Linked DNA regions of Homo sapiens: regions 1 and 3 are each linked to region 2. Evidence: promoter capture Hi-C in human tissues and cell types (Jung and others, 2019). All regions are on one chromosome and are shown on one strand. The core of a region is centred on a gene start or on the middle of the fragment in contact, and the rest is flanking DNA. Distances in the headings are between cores, read along the strand shown. Region 1 has its middle 20 kb from the start of SBK1. Region 2 holds the start of SULT1A2 (sulfotransferase family 1A member 2). Region 3 holds the start of RABEP2 (rabaptin, RAB GTPase binding effector protein 2).

Evidence for each region. Contacts are between HindIII fragments. The study calls those that stand out against the background at their distance.
Region 1: a fragment that was not itself captured here is called in contact with the fragment with the promoter of SULT1A2 in region 2 in 1 of the 25 tissues and cell types used here (dorsolateral prefrontal cortex).
Region 3: the fragment with the promoter of RABEP2 here is called in contact with the fragment with the promoter of SULT1A2 in region 2 in 1 of the 25 tissues and cell types used here (H1 embryonic stem cells).

The regions. Positions count from the first base shown.
Region 1 is chr16:28,269,694-28,274,412 of GRCh38, reverse strand. It overlaps a transcript of SBK1 not described here. Among named protein-coding and RNA genes, the nearest start is that of SBK1, 20 kb to the left of the region's middle. The HindIII fragment of the contact is 4,022 bases long and covers 1-3,899 here.
Region 2 is chr16:28,595,780-28,600,229 of GRCh38, reverse strand. SULT1A2 (sulfotransferase family 1A member 2) reads left to right here and starts at 3,180. Exons shown (of 8, transcript NM_001054.4): 1 at 3,180-3,233; 2 at 4,296-4,447. The coding sequence starts at 4,300. RefSeq lists enhancers at 246-779, 780-1,314, 2,948-3,242. The HindIII fragment of the contact is 13,947 bases long and covers 1-4,450 here.
Region 3 is chr16:28,922,209-28,926,615 of GRCh38, reverse strand. It overlaps RABEP2 (rabaptin, RAB GTPase binding effector protein 2), which reads left to right and starts at 1,378. Exons shown (of 13, transcript NM_024816.3): 1 at 1,378-1,513; 2 at 2,001-2,213. The coding sequence starts at 1,453. RefSeq lists enhancers at 335-918, 1,897-2,126, 2,157-2,246 and silencers at 1,137-1,486, 1,517-1,736. The HindIII fragment of the contact is 23,237 bases long and covers 1-3,664 here.

The DNA of each region.
Region 1 (4,719 bases), core at 639-3,138, 320 kb after region 2:
ATCCCAAAGTGCTGGGATTACATGTGTGAGCCATCGCACCTGGCCTGAGCAGAACGCGTTTGAATTGACCAAGAGACTTTCAGTTTTGTAGTATACTTCCTCTCCTCCCAACAAATTTCTCCTACCATTAACATCTTGTATCAGCGTGGTGCACTTGTTAAAACTGATGAACCAAGATTGATACATAGTTGCTAACTAAAGTTCATATGTTACATCATCGGGGCTCATTCTTTGTTTTGTAGAGTTCCATGGGTTTTGACAAATGTATGTTACAGGTCCACCCTCCCAGTATCATACAGAATAGTTTCACTGCCCTAAAAATCCACCATGCTGTACCTCTTCATCCCTCCCTCTCTCCCGCCAGCCCCCTGGCAACCACTGATCTTTTTATTCTCTTTAGTTTTGGTTTTTCCAGAATGTCATATCACTGGAGTCAGATAGTACTTTTCAGACTGGCTTCTTTCACGTAGCAATACACATTTAAGGTTCCTCTGTGTCTTTTGGGTGGCTTGATGGCTCATTTTATCACTGAATGTTCCATTGTATGGGTGTACCTATAGAAGGACATTGTCATTGTGGTTTCTTCCAAGTTTTGGCAATTATGAATAAAGCTGCTATAAATATTCATGTGCAGATAAGACACCAAAAACAGGCAGCAAAAACAAGAATAGACAAGTGGGGCTGGGCGCAGGGACTCTCGCCTGGAATCCCAGCACTGTGGGAGGCCAAGGTGGGTGGACTGCTTGAGCTCAGGAGTTTAAGACCAGCCTGGGTAACACGGCATAACCCCATCTCTACAAAAAAATGAAATGGACAAGTGGGACTACATCAAACTAAAAAGCTTCTGCTTAGCAAAAGAAACAATCTACACAGTGAAAAGACAACCTATGGCCGGGCATGGTGGCTCATGCCTGTAATCCCAGCACTTTGGGAGGCCGAGGCAGGCGGATCACCTGAGGTCAAGAGTTTGTTGAGACCAGCCTGGCCAAAATGGTGAAACCCCATCTCTACTAAAAATACAAAAATTAGCTGGGCATGGGGGCTCACGCCTGTAATCTCAGCTACTTGGGAGCCTGGGGCAGGAGAATTGCTTGAACCCAGGAGGCGGAAGTTGCAGTGAGCCGAGACTGCGCCATTGCACTCTAGCTTGGTCAATAAGAAAGAAACTCTGTCTCAAAAGAAAAAAAAAAAATCTGAAAGAGAGGCCAGGTGCGGTGGCTCACACCTTTAATCCAGCACTTTGGGAGTTCAAAGTGAAGGGACTGCTTGAGGCCATGAGTTCGAGACCAGCCTGGGCAACATAATGAGACCCTGTCTCTAAAAAAAGAAAAAAATAATTCTCAAAATGGTATTAGCACTCCTGTGTTCTTTACAACAATATTCACAATAGCCAAATGTAGAAATAACCCAAATGGGTTGAATGGATGAAAAAAATGTGATCTATACATGCAACAGGGACTACTACAATTAAGCCTTAAAAATATGCGATGACAGGCCAGGCATGGTGGCTCACGCCTGTAATCCCAGCACTTTGGGAGGCCGAAGTGGGTGGATCACAAGGTCAGGAGTTCGAGACCAGCCTGGCCAATATGGTGAAACCCTATCTCTACTAAAAATACAAAAATTAGCCAGGCGTGGTGGGGCATGCCTGTAGTCCCAGCTACTCAGGGGGCTGAGGCAGAAGAATCGCTTGAACCTGGGAGGCAGAGGTTGCAGTGAGCCAAGATCATGCCACTGCACTCCAGCCTGGGTGACAGAGTGAGACTCCGTCTCAAAAAAAAAAAAAAAAAAAAGAAAGAAAGAAAGAAAGAAAAAAAATATGTGACAACATAGATGAAACTCAAGGACATTATGCAAAGCAAAATAAGCCACAGAAGGACACATATCTCATAATTCCACTTATATGGGATATCTAAAGAAGTCTAATTCCTAGATTTTGGTTCTATAGTTGTCAGAGTTGCAGAAGAAATTGGGGAATAGCTCATCAGTAGGCATAAAGATTCAATAAAGCAAGATGAATAAGCTCTAAAGAGCTGCTGTGTAACTCTGTACCAGGGGCTCACACCTGGAATCCCAGCACTTTGGGAGGCTGAGGCTAGAGGACCACTTGAGCCCAGGAGTTCGAAACCAGCCTGGACAACATAGCGAAACTCTGTCCCTATAAAAAATTTAAAAATTAACTGGACATGGTGGCATGCATCTGTAGTCCCAGCTACTCTGGAGGCTGAGGATGGAGGATTGCTTGAGCCCAGGAGATGGAGGCTGCAGTGAGCTGTGATTGTACTCCAGCCTCAGTAACAGAGTAAGACCATGTCTCAAAAAAACAACCATGTATTATACATGTATTGTACATTTAAAAATATGTTAGGAGGACAAATTTCATTAAGTGTCCTTACCACAGTAAAACGAAACTAGCAAATATTCATGTGCAGGATTTTCTGTGGGCATAAATTTTCAACTTATTTGGGTAAATACCAAGGAGCACTTGATATTTTCTGCCATTCTGTGGCTTCTCTTCACATTCTCTTGGCAGAGTCTTTTGCAGGGCAGAAATTTTCATTTTAAATTTCTTTCCCTTTTCTGTTCAAAAGTTTCGGTTTTCCTGGATTTGATAACATTTTTTGGAGAGGGGAGTACTTGTTTACCTACATGTTTATATATCAGTCAACCCATATTCTCCCCTACTTGTGTAAATGTCTCCAAAATTCAAAAACATTAGGTATTCTATCAATTTCATCTCCTTGAAGAGATCTCTTCTCTTATTTGAGTGTGAACTGCGAGATTCTCTTCTCCTCTCTCTTACATTCAATTCCTGTTTCCTGGAGTCCAGATGTTACTCTCTTTTTTGGGGGTGGGGGGACGGAGTCGCATTCTGTCACCCAGCCTGGAGTGCAGTGGTGTGATCTTGGCTCACTGCAACCTCCGCCTCCCAGGTTCAAGTGATTCTCCTGTCTCAGCCTCCCAAGTAGCTGAGATTACAGGCGTGTGCCACCATGCCCAGCTAATTTTTGTATTTTTAGTAGAAATGGGGTTTCACCATGTTGGCCAGGCTGGTCTTCAACTCCCGACCTCAGGTGATCTGCCTGCTTTGGCCTCCTAAAGTGCTAAGATTACAGGTGTGAGCCACTACTCCTGGCCCAGGTCTTACTCTTTATTGTTTTTCTTGTTTACTATTTCTTGTTTTACTTGGTTTACTCCCTTATTTTAGTGGAGTACATCCTCCAGTAGCTTTCTCAAGTAAGGGTGCGTAGGCCGGGTGCAGTGGCTCACGCCTGTAATCCCAGCACTTTGGGAGGCTGAGACGGGTGGATCACAAGGTCAGGAGATCGAGACCATCCTGGCTAACATGGTGAAACCCCGTCTCTACTAAAAGTACAAAAAATTAGCCAGGCGTGGTGGCGGGCGCCTGTAGTCCCAGCTACTCGGGAGGCTGAGGCAGGAGAATGGCATGTACCCGGGAGGCGGAGCTTGCAGTGAGCGGAGAGCACGCTGTTGCACTCCAGCCTGGGCAACAGAGCAAGACTCCGTCTCAAAAAATAAATAAATAAATAAATAAATAAATAAATAAATAAATAAATAAGAAAGGGTGCATAGGAGGTAAAATTTTTGAGCTCTTGCCAATCTGAAAATATTGTTTTTTCTACTCTCACTTTATTAGTAGTTTGGCTAAGTATTGAATTCTATGCTGAGGGCTGGGCACAGTGGCTCATGCCTGTAATCCCAGCACTTTGGGAGGCTGAAATGGGAGGATCACTTGAGCCAGGAGTTCAAGACCAGCCTGGGCAACATGGTAAAACCCTGTTTCTACAAAAATTAAAAAATTGGCCGGGTGTGGTGGCACTGCCTGTGGTCCCAGGTACCCAGGAGGCTCAGATAGGAGGATCATTTGGGCTCAGGAGGTTGAGACTGCAGTGAGACATGATTGTGCCACTGCACTGTAGCCTGGGTGACAGAGCAAAACCCTGTCTTTAGTAATAATAATAATAATAATAATAATAATAATAATTCTAGGCTGAAAATAATTTTCTTTTCTACTTTTGGAAACATAGTTCCGGCAGATCGTGGTGGCTCACGCCTGTAATTCCAGCACTTTGGGAGGCCGAGGTGGGTGGATCACGAGATCAAGAGATCGAGACCATCCTGGCCAACATGGTGAAACCTCATCTCTACTAAAAATACAAAAATTATCTGGCTGTGGGGGTGTGCGCCTGTAGTCCCAGCTACTCTTGAGGCTGAGGCAGGAGAATCGCTTGAACCTGGGAGGCGGAGGTTGAGTGGAGATCACGCCACTGCACTCCAGCCTGGCGACAGAGCACAAGACTGTGTCTCAAAAAAACAAAAACAAAAATGGAAAAAACATAGTTCATTGTCTTCTCGTTTCCAGGATTGCTGTTGAGAAGTCCGATGCCATTATGATTCTTGATACTCTATACAATTTTGGAGAATTTTCTTCTTGTCCCAGTGTCTTGAAATTTACTGGCGATTGGCTTTGGCATGAGTCTATTTTTATCCTTTGTTTTTGTTTGTTTGTTTGTTTGAGACGGAGTCTTGCTCTGTCACCCAGGCTGGAGTGCAGTGGTGCAATCTTGGCTCACTGCAACCCCCACCTCCCGAGTTCAAGCGATTCTCGTGCCTCAGCCTTGAGAGTAGCTGGGACTACAGGTGCGTGCCACCACTCTCAGCTAATTTTTTTTTTTTTGTATTTTTAGTAGAGATGGG
Region 2 (4,450 bases), core at 1,931-4,430:
ACTATAGCCTGGGCAAAAGAGCAAGAAACTGTCTCTAAAAATATAAAATAAAATTGCACCTCTTGTGTACTTCCCCGTCTGCTTCTTTACCTGAATACTTACTATCTCACCGGCTAGGTGCTTTATGACTCTCGTTAGTCTCTCCCACCCCAACCTTTGCACTACATTGCCCGAGGGCAGCTCTTGTCACTGCTGTAGAACAAAGTCCTGCACAGAGACGATAGCCAAGAAATAGTTAATAAAATAATGGAAAACGGGTGCCTTCTACTGAGCACCCGCTAATAGTGAGTGAGTAGAGGACTTGCCCTGGGGACATTCAGTGACCTGCTGGGTGTTGCTGAGCTGTGAGGAAGTTCAGGTCTGGCTGCAGTGGTGAGGCTGTGACTCAATCAATCACTGCTGATGCTCCCAGGACCTGCACCAGCTTAGTCCCAGGGGCAAGGATTTTAAACCCCCACCTCCATTTCCTCATCTGTAAGATGCAAATAACAGTCACCTCTGCCTCACGGGATGGAGCTGTGTAATGCCCGGAACAGTGCCTGCTGCATAGAGGGGTTGCTGCCAGCTGCCTCTCCCTCCTTGTCTCTTACCTGCCTGCTGCCTGGGACAGGATGAAGCGGGGCCCTTGTGTTGCCCCAACCCTGGCTGTTGGCTAAGAGCCCACGTGATCTGCCTGTGAGAGGAGTTCCTTCCGGAAGAACCAGGGCAGCTTCTGCCCCTAGAGGGCCAATGCCCTAGCTGAGTGCAGTCCCCCGGCCCCAGCCTGGTCCAGCTTTGGGAAGAGGGTGCCCAGTTGTGCAATCCAGGCCGGGGCAGCCGTGTCCTGATCTTGGTATTCAGGGCTGAGCCTGGAGGGGGCTTGTGATGCCTGACTCTGTCTCTCTCTCTGGCCCCATGCCTTGGTAGCTGTGAGGCGTCACTGCTTTGGGTGACCTGATCTGGCTGTGATGGATGAGCACGGGGGAAATAGTGGAAGACTCGGAATTAGAAGACGTGAGTGGGCTTTGGCCCCAGCCTCCCTACCCCACTCCCTGTCCTGGGCTGCCTGTGACCAACCTTGTTTCTGCAGGCACACTGGATAGCCCTGCTGGAGCTCAGTGTCCCTAATCCCCTCCAGATACTGGTGGCCTAGGGGAGGTCATCAAAGACCGGTGGGACATCGACCTCAGCCCGTTTCCACGCTTTTTTTTGTTTTGTTTTGTTTTTTTGAGACCGAGTTTCACTCTTGTTGCCCAGGCTGGAGTGCAATGGCGTGATCTTGGCTCACCGCAACCTCCGCCTCCCGGGTTCAAGCGATTCTCCTGCCTCAGCCTCCCAAGTAGCTGGGATTACAGGCGTGTGCCACCAGGCTTGACTAATTTTCTATTTTTAGTAGAGACAAGGTTTCTCCATGTTGGTCAGGCTGGTCTCAAACTCCCGACTTCAGGTGGTCTGCCTGCCTCGGCCTCCCAAAGTGCTGGGATTACAGGAGTGAGCCACCGTGCCAGGCCTTCTCCAGGCTCTTGGCACCTTAGCCAGAAACAATTTAAGGACAAGTGCAAAAGTCATGAACGTAGGCAGATTTCCTGCAGAGTAAAGGGACTCACTGAAGAAGAGGAACGTGGGGGTCCTCAAGAGAGTGTCTCATGCCCTACAAGGTGTGGGGCTGACCTTTATGGGCTTCTTCAACTAAAGAGGGGTATATTCATGAAGATTCCAGGAAAAGGTAAAGATTTCTCAAGACCGTGGTGCCACAATTTACACCCAAATACAGGTGTTCCTGGAGCCGTCTTGGCACTGGTGGGTGTACGGTTTCATATGTTACTGATTGTACAGTGAGATCCTAGGTGAAACCTACATCAAATACAGCGCCATGTTGCTTCTGGTTGGTCGCAGCCAGCTTGGTCCTCATCCTATTTTTCAGGGACTTATTGGCCCTTGGCACATGCAGCTATTTCAAGTTTCCTTCTTCTGGTCATGTGAAACTGCTGCCTGGGATTTTCTGTTGTCTTGCTAGCACTCTATTAATCTCACATTCTCGCCTCTTTTCTGTGCCACCCCCTGCTGGTCCGGCTGGTTTTCACTAGAGTGCAATACAAAGTCTCAGTCAAGAGGGCCTCCTGAAGGTTGCTGAGGGCAGGGGTGGAGCTAGTAGCCGGAGGACCTGCCAGTCATGGGGATTCCTCAGGGGCACAGAGGAGGGAGGAGGGGCCTGTGGCCCTAGCAGGGGAGCAGCCTCTCCTCTGCCTGGAAATCCCATGCCTCAGTTTTCCCCGCTTGCCTCTGAGCTCACGCAACCCTGGGAAGGCTTGGGAGACTCACCTTTACTCAGATGGTTGTTTACCTGTCTCGTGCCCAGCTTGACCCTGGACTTTAAATAGTGAGGACAAAGAACGAGGAGGGTGGGGGGATGCACTCCTTCCACGGGGCCCTGTGGCTTCCAAGCCTCAACCTCCTCTGGCCTCTGTCTGTGGAGCCTCCTTCAAACCCATGGAAAGAAAAGTACCTGCCAGGGGCTGTGGTTCTTCTAGGATCTTCTATCGATGTTCTGTGAGGTCCCCAGGGAGCCATGAAGCTGGGGCTGGCTCCCAGGGCAATGGGACTGCAGTGTCCTTGTTCTTTCTTGTTCTATGGATCCATGCTCTGCTCCACCCCTGCCCCTTCACTCTGCCCACACGCATCACTCCAGACTGGCCTTGTGGTCAGAGCCTGGAGTGCATGGGCTGCTGGAGGCCTGTGGGTTGCACTGGGCCAGGACCCCTGGCACCTTCAAGACTGGCCTGGAGCCAGCAGGTAGGTGACCTTTCCAGGGCCTGCCTATCCCATCTTTCTCCTCCAATCCCTCCCCTCTCTTGCCTGGGTCAATTAGAGAAAGCTTGTCTTTTGGAGTTCAGGGGCAGGTCAGGAGCCCAGTGACAGCTCAAAAAAAAAAACCCACAAAAACAAACCCACCATTGGGCCCTTTCCCCTTTCATTCTTCTGTTTTCTACACACCAAACCCAGTCGTGGCTTTGGAGATCACTTTAAGCTTGTCTCCAGCTGGCAAACTAAGGAGGGTAATAGAGAAGCTCCCCCACCCCCAACCCTACCCCTTCCTTCCGGAAGCAAATCTAAGTCCAGCCCCGGCTCCAGATCCCTCCCACACTGACCTAAGAAACCCTCAGCACAGACAACACCCCTGCATTCCCCACACAACACCCACACTCAGCCACTGCGGGCGAGGAGGGCACAAGGCCAGGTTCCCAAGAGCTCAGGTGAGTGACACACCGGAATGGCCCAGGACGCCCTCACCCTGCTCAGCTTGTGGCTCCAACATTCCAGAAGCCGAGGCCTCTGCTATCCCTGCCCTCTCCCCATGGATATCCCATTTCAGACAACCCCGGCCGGCCTGAATCCCCCTCCCTTCCTTTTTTTTTTTTCCGGGGAGGCCAGGTCTTGCTGTCACCGAGGCTGGAGTGCTGTGGGATCCTGGCCACTGCAGCCTTGAATTCCTGGGCTCAAGTGATTCTCCTGCCTCAGTAGCTAGGACTACAGACCCTCACCATCCTGCCTGGATAGTTTTAAAAAATATTTTTAAAAGATTTTTAGAGATGGGGTCTTCCAATGCTGCCCAGATTGGTCTCCAAATTCTGGCCTCAGCCTCCCTAGGGTCTGGGATTACAGGTGGGAGCCACCCTGCCCAGGATCCTCCTTTTGCTGAGTCATCACAGTTTTGCTCATTCCCACATCAGGCTCTGGCCCCCAATACCAGCTCAGTTGCTCAATGGGCTGTTTGTCCTGGAGCCCAGATGGACTGTGGCCGGGCAAGTGGATCACAGGCCTGGCCAGCCTAGGAGTTGCCACATGTGAGGGGCCGAGGGGCTCAAGGAGGGGAACATCGGGGAGAGGAGCCTACTGGGTGGAGGCTGGGGGTCCCAGCAGGAAATGGTGAGACAAAGGGCGCTGGCTGGCAGGAAGACAGCACAGGAAGGTCCTAGAGGTTCCTCAGTGCAGCTGGACTCTCCTGGAGACCTTCACACACCCTGACATCTGGGCCCCGCGCCACGAGGGTGCTTTCACTGGTCTGCACCATGGCCCAGGCCCTGGGATTTTGAACAGCTCCGCAGGTGAATGAAAGGTGAGGCCAGGCTGGGGAACCACCACATTAGAGCCCGACCTGGTTTTCAGCCCCAGCCCCGCCACTGACTGGCCTTGTGAGTGCGGGCAAGTCACTCAGCCTCCCTAGGCCTCAGTGACTTCCCTGAAAGCAAGAATTCCACTTTCTTGCTGTTGTGATGGTGGTAAGGGAACGGGCCTGGCTCTGGCCCCTGACGCAGGAACATGGAGCTGATCCAGGACATCTCTCGCCCGCCACTGGAGTACGTGAAGGGGGTCCCGCTCATCAAGTACTTTGCAGAGGCACTGGGGCCCCTGCAGAGCTTCCAGGCCCGGCCTGATGACCTGCTCATCAGCACCTACCCCAAGTCCGGTA
Region 3 (4,407 bases), core at 129-2,628, 330 kb before region 2:
TCAGCTCCCACTTATAAGTGAGAACATGCATGTTTAGCTTTCTGTTGCTGCATTAATTTGCTGAGGATAATAGCTTCTAGCTTCATCCATGTCCCTGCAAAGGACATGATCTCGTTCCTTTTTATGGCTGTATAGTATTCCATGGTGTATATGTACCACATTTTCTTTATCCAGTCTATCATTGATGGGCATTTGGGTTGAGTCCATGTCTTTGCTATTTTGAATAGTGCTTCAATGAACATACTCGTGCATGTATCTTTGTAATAGAATGATTTATATTCCTTTAGGTATATACCCAGTAATGGGATTTCTGGGTCAAATGGTATTTCTGGTTCTAGGTCTTTGAGGAATCACCACACTGTCTTCCACAATGGTTGAACTAATTTACATTCCCACCAACAGTGTAAAAGCGTTCTACCTTTGGCCATTTTCAAACTGCATTATCTGTTTTACAAAAATCGCTCCAGCTGCTTTACGGAGAATTAATTAATTAAAGGGTGGAGTCGACACTGCGGAAGTTCAGGAGAAGTGATGGGAGCTGGGACGGAGTGTTAGCGCTGGAGATGGAGAAAAAGGGGCACATTCTGGAATAGTCAGCACATTGGAAGTAGAGTTTACGGGACTTGCAGGAGGACACGTAGAATCAAGGACTTCCAGGTTCCTGGCGTGTCCTTTACAGAGGGAAAAAAGGTTTGAGGGAAGGGGAACCAAGGCTCTGGACATAAATCTGAATTGCCTGTCACCGTCCGGGTGGAGGTCACAGATAAAGAGCCTGATCTAGACACAGGCGGAGAGGAGAGGAGGGATTTGAGGGCGTTGGGAGGAGGAAAGGGGGGCCAGCAGGAAGCGGTGACTGGCTGAGTAACAAAATGGGGGTGGGGACGTGCAAGTTTCAGACTCCGACTAACTACGCGGGGACTCCGAGGCGCTCAGAAAAATGAAGCCGACCCGGCCCTGCCCCGAGGGACGCTCCAAGAGGGCGGAGGTGCAGGGAGGGCCCCGCCACAATTCGCGGTAACGCAAGCCAGGCTCGGGCGGAAGGGCGGCCGGAGCCGATCAAAGGCTGGCTCCGGGCAGGGGCAGCGAGGGAGCGAGGGGGAGCTCTCCGCAGGCCGGTGTCCCGGAGGAGGCATAATTGGAGCAGGGCTTCCAAGGTCACGGAGAGACGCCGGGCAAGACCTCTTAAGGATCCTCTTCCGGGCTTGAAAGGCAGGCGTCCTCCCGAACCGCGCGACCCAGCCAAGAAGAGCCGGGGCGGGGCCGGGGCCGGGGCCGGGGGCCGACTCGGGAATCTTCGGCCGAGGCTCGGCAATCCCCCCATCCTCCGTCCGGGGCCTCCAGCCCGGGGCCGATCCGGAAACAGCCGAGCGGATCCGGAAACAGCCGAGAGGACCCGGAAGCGGTGCGCTCCGTCACCAGGGAGTGCGGGAATCCGCCGTTTGCGCTGAGGCAATGGCGGCAGCTGCGCCGGTGGCCGCGGACGACGATGAGCGGCGGCGGCGGCCGGGGGCTGGTACGTGAGGGGGCGTCCGTGCAAGCGGGGAACGGTGATGCTGGGGGCGGGGCCGAGCCAGCCACCTGCGGATGGGGGGTGGAGAGGGATGATGGAGGAAGGGGCGGGGCCACGCCGTCGGGAAAGGGGGCGGGGCCTACAGCCACAGGCAAAAGGGGGCGTGGCCCGGCCATTGAAGGGGTAGGGCCAGTGACAGGTGCGAAGTGGGGCCCGGTGAGGAAGGGGCGCGGCCACTAGGAGGGCGGGGCCAGGTGGGACCGAAGAGAGGACTGAGTGAAACTGGCCACCGCGAAGAGATGGAGTGTAGGCAGCACCCGGCAGAGCGAGTGGGAAGGGGGCGGGGCAGGGGCGGGGCCAGGTGAGCCGGGCGGGCCCAGGTGAAGGAGGCCCCAGATGAAGGCAACAGTACTAGGTTGCAGGACTTGCTAAGCCGGTAGGTGGCCTGGGGTAAGAGATGGGAAGAGAGGCTGATCCCTGTCCCCCACAGCACTGGAGGACTCCCGGTCCCAGGAAGGGGCAAATGGTGAGGCCGAGTCAGGTGAGCTCAGCCGGCTTCGGGCTGAGCTGGCAGGCGCCCTGGCAGAAATGGAAACCATGAAGGCTGTGGCAGAGGTGAGCGAGAGCACGAAGGCCGAGGCTGTGGCTGCGGTGCAGCGGCAGTGCCAAGAGGAGGTGGCCTCGCTGCAGGCCATCCTGAAAGGTGAGACGCGGGACTCACCTAGACTCCCCATCAACCCCATACTGGGGAGTGCATGACGAGAAAGGGATTGGGGGCACAGATAAGCTATGGGATAGGTTAGCAGGGCTGCCTGGCACAGGGCATGCCTATGGCCCAGAGGAAGGGCCGCCCTTTTAAAATTTGCATAGAGGCCCTCCATGTGATAGCAGCAGCTCTGTCAGTTATAGCTAAGTTTAGCTCCCAGCTTCTATCTGTTGCCTTGTCCCATGTCATTTCTTGTCCCTCACTGATGATTGATCAACCCTGAAGATGGGCGAGAAACTTCTCAGTTCCCCAAACCAACCTCATTTTAGTCTGGACTTCTGGGAAATAGAATCAGCCCTGGCCCAGTCTCTGTGAGTCTAATGCTCTGCTCTCTAGCCTTCCCCAGACACTCCCCCCTCCACCCCACGCCATGCACCAGCTTCCCCACCTCCGCCCCACGTTCTTTGTACTTGGTCCTCTGGCCCCAGACGCCCCAGCTGCTGATCCTGTTTTCTACTCTCCTTCCTCTAGCAGAAGCCAGAGACTCTGAAACAGATGTCAGAGCTGCCCCCGCTGCTATGCCCCTGCTGCGGTGGGGCTCTCGTCAACTCTCTCCTGGACTTTTGTCCCAACCTTCTCACAGATCTTCCTCTATAGTGTGGCCTTGACATTGGCTTCCAGAGTAAACTTCCTAAAATTCCCTTCCCAACATGCGATTTCCCTTTCTAACAGCTGCTGGTGGCTGGAGACTTCTCTGGGGCTGTATTTCCCACATTTCAGGATCCACCTGCCTGTGCAATGTAGACACATCCTTGTACAACTTACTGTGCTGTTTACTTAATATTTGTTCTTTAAATAGATCCACATTTTAAAAGTTTACATACATTTATTAAGGGAAACTTGTTATATCTACTATATAAGAAAAGCCAGGTGTGTCCTAAATAATAACAATAGCTAGCTTTTTTTTTTTTTCTTGAGTCAATAAGAGTTTCACTCTGTCGCCCAAGCTGGAGTGCGTCACAGCACGCTGGTGTGATCTCAGCTCACTGCAACCTCCACCTCCTGGGCTCAAGCAGATCCTCCTACCTCAGCCTCCCAAGTAGCCAAGACTACAGGTGCATGCCACCATGCCTGGCTAATTTTTAGTATTTTTTTGTAGAAACAGGGTCTCTCTATGTTACCCAGACAGGTCTTGAACTCCTGAGCTCAAACGATCTGCCTGCCTTGGCCTCCCAAAGTGCTGGGATTACAGGTGTGAGCCACCGCGCCTGGCCAGGTAGCATGTTTTGAGCACTCACTATGTGCCAGGCACTGAGCTAAATGCTTTATGAGTAACTAATCTTCATAACAAACTCTGTGAGGCAGGAACTATTACCCATCTCCATTTTACAGAGGAAGCTCTGAGGCCCGGAGAGGTTAAATAACTTGCCCAAGGTCATATAGCTGGAAAACAGCCAAAGGTTGGAAACCAAGCAGCCTAACAGCTGAACCTATTTTTTTTTTTTTCTGAGACAGTGTCTCACTGTTACCCAGACTGGAGTTCAGTGGTGCAGTCTCAGCTCACTGCAACCTCCACCTCCCGGGTTCAAGCGATTCTCCTTCCTCAGCCTCCCAAGTAGCTGGGACTACAGGCGTGTGCCACCACACGTGGCTAATTTTTTTTTTCTTTTCTTTTGAGATGGAGTCTTACTCTGTCGCCCAGGCTGGAGTACAGTGGTGTGATCTTGGCTTACTGCAAGCTCCACCTCCCGGGTTCATGCTATTCTCCTGCCTCAGCCTCCCAACCAGCTGGGACTACAGGTGCTCGCCACCACGCCTGACTAATTTTTTTTTTTAATTTTTAGTAGAGACGGGGTTTCACTGTGTTAGCCAGGATGGTCTCGATCTCCTGACCTCGTGATCTGCCTGCCTCGACCTCCCAGAGTGCTGGGATTAGAGGGGTGACCCACCACGCCCGGCCCCATTTTTTGTATTTTTAGTAGAGATGGGGTTTCACCGTGTTAGCCAGGATAGTCTCGATCTCCTGACCTTGTGATCCGCCCACCTCGGCCTCCCAAAGTGCTGGAATTAGAGGCGTGAGCCAGCACGCCCGGCCCAGCTGAACCTTTACTTCTACTGTTAGTGCACAATAATAGGTCAATATCTATACAAACAAAAAATGACCACGTTCTACCAAAAATCAAACAAGTCC